2 separate regions of the Homo sapiens genome follow, and region 1 is linked to region 2. The links are contacts of gene promoters, found by promoter capture Hi-C in human tissues and cell types (Jung and others, 2019). All regions are on one chromosome and are shown on one strand. Each heading gives the region's core, a stretch centred on a gene start or on the middle of the fragment in contact. The rest is flanking DNA. Distances are from core to core; before and after follow the strand shown. Region 1 has its middle 27 kb from the start of CD2. Region 2 holds the start of PTGFRN (prostaglandin F2 receptor inhibitor).

What was found. Contacts are between HindIII fragments. The study calls those that stand out against the background at their distance.
Region 1: a contact is called between a fragment that was not itself captured here and the fragment with the promoter of PTGFRN in region 2, in 1 of the 25 tissues and cell types used here (mesenchymal stem cells).

Annotation. Positions count from the first base shown.
Region 1 is chr1:116,779,463-116,782,903 of GRCh38, reverse strand. No RefSeq gene overlaps it. Among named protein-coding and RNA genes, the nearest start is that of CD2, 27 kb to the right of the region's middle. The HindIII fragment of the contact is 4,325 bases long and covers 1-3,441 here.
Region 2 is chr1:116,908,508-116,911,858 of GRCh38, reverse strand. PTGFRN (prostaglandin F2 receptor inhibitor) reads right to left here and starts at 1,943. Exons shown (of 9, transcript NM_020440.4): 1 at 1,607-1,943. The coding sequence starts at 1,655. The HindIII fragment of the contact is 8,899 bases long and covers 1-3,351 here.

The DNA.
Region 1 (3,441 bases), core at 301-2,800, 130 kb after region 2:
AACCACCACAATCAAGATACTGAACTGGTCCATCACCATAAAGGAGCTCCCGCATGCTACTCCTTTCTATTTGCTTTCCCTTGGCAACTACTGATTAGCAGTATTGTTTTTAAGGTGTCTTCTTGTTGCTGGGTACTCTTTTAATCTGTTGTCTCTAGTTGCTAATAAAATTCCATGTAAATGGCTGGGCGCGGTGGTTCATGCCTGTAATCCCAGCACTTTGGGAGGCCAGGGCGGGCGGATCATGAGGTCAGGAGATCGAGACCATCCTGGCTAACACCGTGAAACCCTGTCTCTTGCAGTGACCTGAGATTGCACCACTGCACTCCAGCCTGGGCAACAGAGCGAGACTCCGCCTCAAAACAACAACAACAACAACAACAACAACAACAACAACAAAACATTCCATGCAAGTACCAAATTTTACTTATCCATTCTCCTGGTCATGACCTAGAGTACCTACAATTCTTTACAAGAACAGACATTATGGGTCCGTGTGGGTACTTCTCTAAGATGTGTTAATGTATAGCCAGGAGTGAATTTTTTGATGCCAAATGCTGTACGATTTGTTCATTTGACTCAGCAGTGCCAGATGCTCAAAATGTATCCCTTTGACCAGAGTCTATTTAATACATAGCAAGAGTGGATGGGGCCAGGCACAATAACTCAGTTCTATAATCCCAGTACTTTTGGGAAGCTAAGGCAGAGGATCGCTCGAGCCCAGAAGGTTGAGACCAGCCTGGCGACATAGGGAGACCCCGTCTCTACAAATAATGATAATTTAAAAATTAGCCAGATGTGGCATGCACCTGTGGTCCCAGCTACTTGGGAGGCTGAGGTGGGAGGATCACCTGAGCTGAGGAGGTCGAGGCTGCAGTGATTGTGCCACTGTGCTCCAGCCTGGGTGACACAGCAAACCTCAGTTTCAAAAAAAAAAAAAAAAAAAAAGAGTGGATGGAAAACGTAGTCTTAACTTCACAACCATGTGTCCAGGTAAACTTTCATCATTAGAAGGGGGCCTGTTAGCAATGATGGCAAGAGCTTCTATTCCTAGCCTGTTAAGGCTTTTGAGTAAATATTTGGTTTTACCCCTTCCATCCATGCATACGTTAATATAATCATGATTTTTCTCCTTTAGACTATTAATGTTGTAATTTTATTGGTAGGTTATTTTTATGTTGCCATTTCCTTACATTGCTGGGATAAACTCCACTTCATCATGATATGTTTTTAAAAATATAGTGTTGAATTTGTTTGTTAATATTTCATCTAGAATTTTTGCATCTACATTTATATGTCAGAAGGGCTTGTACTTTTATTTTATTTATTTATTTATTTTTTTGAGACGGAGTCTCCCTCTATCCCCCAGGCTGGATTGCAGTGGCACGATCTCGGCTCACTGCAAGCTTCACCTCCTGGGTTCATGCCATTCTCTTGCCTCAGCCTCCCGAGTAGCTGGGACTACAGCGGCCCACCACCATGCCAGGCTAATTTTTTGTACTTTGTTTTTTTTAGTAGAGACAGGGTTTCACCGTGTTAGCCAGGATAGTCTCGATCTCCTGACCTCGTGATCTGCCCGCCTCAACCTCCCAAAGTGCTGGGGATTATAGGCGTGAGCCATCGCTCCCAGCCAGTACTTTTAAAAATGTATTAATTTATTACATTTTAATTATTAATTAAATTTGTATTGTATAATTATTACAATATTAATTATTAATTTTAAAACCTCTGCTGTGTCTGTGGTTATTTCCCCATTTGCATTCAGTTTTTAAATTTGTACTTTCTACCTCTTTTTTTTTCACTTTAGTAGCCTTGTCACATCTATCTTATTAATCTTTCTGAAACACCAGTTTAAGGTTTTATTAATCTTCTCTGTTTTGTTGTTGTTTTTCTCTAGGTCATTGATATCTGTTCTATCTTTGTTATTATTTCTTTCTTTCTGTTTCTTTGCTTGTCCCTTCCCTGTATTCTTGAGTATTACTCTTTGTTTTCAATCTGTCTTATATCTTGATAAATGTAATTAAAGCTATACATCTGTCTCTAAAACCTACTGTAGATGTGGTCTTCAAATTTTGAAGTGTTTTCATTACCAGTTTTATATATTTATTAGCTTCATTTGTTATTATTATTTTATTATCAGAACTTTCATTTTACTGTTAGACCAACTATTAATAATTGTTTTCTGGGTTTTCTAGAAATAATGCATTTCTAGAAAAAAATTCTATTTCTAGAAATAACATAGTTTTGGAAAAATGTTCTCTAGTAATCTAACAGTTTTTTCACTATGCTTTTGAAAAATATTTTATAATTTTAATTCATTATGATTGAAAAATATATTCTTGATAACATTCATTCATTAGACTTTCTTGTAACTTTCTTTGTGGATTAATATATGATTAATTTTTAAAATTGTTTCATATATGCCCAAAAAGATTGTGTGTTTTCTGTTGGATATAAATAAAGCTTATTAATTAAAATACTCAGATTTCTATATCACTGCTTTTTCTCTGCTAAACCTATTCATTTCTGAAGACTCCATTTCCTCCTCAATAATTTTTTTGTGTTAAAACTTCCAATTAAAATGATTAATTTATTTATTTGCTATGAAGTTCTGTCGATTACCTTATTTTTTTGTTGCAATATTGTCAGGTGCATATGTGTTTGCTCTACTATTCTTTCAACAAGTATGGTTTCCTTTTTTGTCCTTTGAATTTTTCTATTAGATATTAAGATTGTTGCTTCAGCTTTCTTTTGGATCATATTTTCTTTATTTTCAAACTTTTTGTATTCTTTTGTTGTAAAGTTGTCTTCTGTAAACAGTATATTGTTGGATCTTTCAAAATGCTCAATTTGAGATGTTCTCTTTTGATTGGTTGTTTAACCTATTTACATTTCTCATAATCACTTTATATTATTACTTATTTCTTCCATTTTATTTCATGTTTTTCATTACTGATACTTTTTTTTCTTTTCTAATTTTACTCTTCACTGAGTAGATACGATTTTCTTTTGCTGGTTTAAAAGAACGTATTTTATTTTTGTTTTTATGGTCTTTGCTCTTAAGACATATTTGTTTATTTATTCATCCTGACTTACTAAACTTATAAATACCTATTTCTTTCCTCCAATAAGGCAAGTAGTTTAGCATGTTCTCTTATGTCTCTGGACTCTTCTTTCTCTCTCCCCCACCAATACATATAACAACAACAACAATAACACACACACAACTGATATGGTCTAGACAGAATTTAGTTCTGGGTTTTTATGAATATGGTTTTTAATTTGTGTTTTCATCACACTTTGATTTTTTAAGATAACAATTAATTTGCCAAATTATTTAATCACCCTAACTTCACATTTCTATACAACATCTGTTGTATTTATTTTCCTCTAATTTGAATATTTCTTCCAAGGGTTTTTCAAAGTAAGTTTTTGTATGAC
Region 2 (3,351 bases), core at 694-3,193:
CATACAACTTACAAGGGTCCCAGAGTGAAAAGTAAAGATTAAAAGCACTACCACCGGGTGTGGTGGAGCATGCCTGTAATTCCAGCACTTCAGGAGACTGAGGTGGGAGAATGACTTGAGCCCAGGAGTTTGAGGCTTCAGTGAGCTGTGGTTGTGCCATTGCACTCCAGACTGGGTGAAAGACTGAGGCTTTGTTTCAAAAATAAAAATAAAGCACTAGGATCAGGGACTATAGAAAAGATGCCATAAAACTAAGTGGAAGATCTGGAAGCTTTCTGCACATGGGCTGAAGCTGAAGCAATGTGGCTGGACGAGCTCTCTGAGGGAGTCAGTTCAGAAAATCCCTTCAAGGTGAAGGAAGAAAACACAGCAGCCAGCAAGGCTGGTTCATCAGCAGCAGGAGTCATGGGGGTTACAGCAGTGTGGGCCCCGGTGTCCCCAGCAGGGGAGTAGCTATAGAAGGCCTCCTCTGGAACCCTCTGACCATAAGTGCAGAGTAATCATTTGCCCTGTGTGCAGCTGGGACCTGAATGGCACGGACACCGCACATCATGCGCTCTGTGAAAGACTCAGAGCCGCCTTCTCTAGGGGCTTGGAAGAGAACCCCAGGCCAGGTCACAGGAATCATCTTGTCCTGGTTGACACTGACAACAAGGATCCAAGAATATCAAAACATTTAAGAGTCGGCCCTGGGGTACCATGGTGGGCACTTAATAAACATATTTCCGTGGCTGGCTAGGATCACCATGTGGATCTACGTGAAGATGGTGTCTGTGTATGGAGTGAATGGAAAATGGAGAGGGAAAAAACCCACAAAAGATTCCTTGGGTGGGGGGAGGGCGCTGGGCCAAAACCTCACGGGGCACCCAGGGTTTCCGGAGGGTGGAAGACGAGGGGATAGTAAGGGAGGGAAAGTAACAGGTAGAAAAAGTTGGAGAAGCCAGGCTTTTAGGTCTTTGTGTATAAATACGCAGCTAGGCAGCTTCAAGAAAAGCTAAAAGAAAAGACTGAGGCAGAAGATCTAGCCACGACGAAAATGACGGCAGGACTCGCCCGCCGATTTCCATTGTAACGCTCCGGGCCACCCTGTGACCTTCGTGGAAGGAAGTTGGAGGATTCTCTCGCTTCCCTGGAAAGGCAACTCCGCGCGGGTTGGGTGAAGAGCGACCCGGCCGGCGGCGGCTATGGCGGGGCATATCAAAGGCTCACATTTCCGCTCTCGAGCCGAGGACCCGGGCCGGGACCGCAGCACCTTCCGGGCCGGGAGTTCAAGGTGAGCCGGGCTCCCGGCGGCCAACAGGTAGGGAGACCTGGGGGAAAGACGGCCCCGGGCCACTCCCCCCGGCACATGTTGGGGGCGAGGCTCGGCCTGGCGGAGCGGCCACTTGCACCCCGCGCGCGGGGCCCGAGCGGATTCGCGCCAGGCTCCGGGCGGCCCCGCGGCCGCTCCCCGCCGGGCCGAACAACCCGCGCACCCCGGCCGGGTTTCCCGGGAGCAGCCCGGGCACCCTCGGCGCCCCAGGCCGCGCGCTGCAGCCGCGCCCCGCCGAGCCCTCCAGGGCCTCGCCAGTCCCCGTGTGCCCCGCTGAGCCCCGCGCACACTCACCCAACGACAGGAGCGCCAGCAGCAGCGGCCTCGAGGCCAGGCGCCCCATGCTCGCCCGGCGGGAGCGACTCTCCCCCTCCTCCTCCTTCCCCGCCGCCTCTCCTCCTCCTCCTCTTCCAGCTCCGGCTGCTCCAGAGTCGGCGCTCCTCCGCCTGGGCCGCGCGCCTGCTCCGCTCTCCTCGCGAGCCGATAAATCCCAGCGCTGGGGCGTACGTGCGCCCCTGGCTCCGCTCGCTCCCTCCCGCCTCCTTCCCTCCCTCCTCCAGCCGGCCGGGCCCGGGAGCCGGCCCCGCCGATCCGAGTGTGCAGCCCCGACCGCTTCCCGAAAGCAGAAGGGAAGAACCGCAGCGCCCGCCCGCGCCTCCCATCCGGCGCTTTGCCAGCAACAAACACAAACTTTCCCAAGCCCCTCCCCGCTCCAGGTAACGGAGGAAGAGCCGGGGCCACCCGCTTAAAGGCGAGGAGGCGTCGGAGCCCACCCTGCCATCCCCTCTGGGCCCCCACCCCACGAGAAACTTTCCTCCGACCTTTAAAAGTTGGCCTGGGAAAGACTCGTCTGGAAATCCCATCGCTTTAGCCCTATCCCGGGACACCCCGCGTTCCATCACGCTGGAGTCACCCACGCGTGTCTAGTCTATCCTCAGCCAACTCCCCGCTCGTTCGGCCTCTCGTCCTGAGCTAAACACCCCACCAACCAGCCGCTTGGCCTATGCCAAAAATTATGCAGATAGGAGCGAAGGAGCTGAAAGGACTTTTAAAGGCCACGGATTCCAACCTCTACCATACAGAGGCCTTAAGTGTTTCGGTGAGGTGCCCAAGGATTCACAGGGAAGGGGCAAAATCAGAACCCCGCTCTCCTGACTCTGCCCACTCCCCGGTGGCTAGGGTGGGCCTGTCTCCTTCCTTACCCAGCTCCCTCCCTCTCCTCGGCGCCTGTGGCACTGATTAGAACAGCACCCCACAAAGACACCCATTTAAAAAACAAACAAAACCCAAGTGTATTAATAGCTATAGTACTTCATATAGAATGTACTCTTAAGACTTAATATTTATTGCTCTAAGTGGACACCACTGATTGCCAATAAAGACTCATTTTTCCCCCTACAATAGAGTTTTGTGCTTTTGATTTGAATACAAAAGGCCCGACTTGGTTGGGAGAAATGGAGCATTCCTTGCTTGAAACTTAGCAAGCATGATTCAAACACGCAAGGAGCAGCACTGGTGCCCACTGCCCGTCACTGGGCTTTCATTCACATGCAAAACGGATCGCAGATGCTTATGCGGAAACTGCCCACACTGGGGAAGAACACTGCTTTTACTCTCATGCATCCGTCTTTCAACCAACAAATGTTTCTTATTTCCCCACTATCAAATGTGTGATTAGCCAGGTATCTTTGGAAAGAGACTTAAAAATTCATTCCTGGTGGTGCAACGTTATTGTACTTAATGCCACTGAATGGTACACTTAGAAATGTTTAAAATTGCCAGGCCTGGTAACTGGTACTTGTAATGCTAGCTACTCAGAAGGCTGAGGTTGGGGGGGCAGGGGGAGGCGGGGGGCAGGGATGGTGTTGCTTGAGGCCAGGAGTTTTTATTTGTTTTGTCTTCTTTCTTTCTTTCATTTTTGAGACAGGGTCTCAAAATGAGGATCTGTCACCCAGGCCGGAGTGCAGTGGTGCGATCAGGGATCACTGCTGCCTTGACCTCCCAGGCTCAAGCAATCCTCCCACCTCCACCTCTCAAGT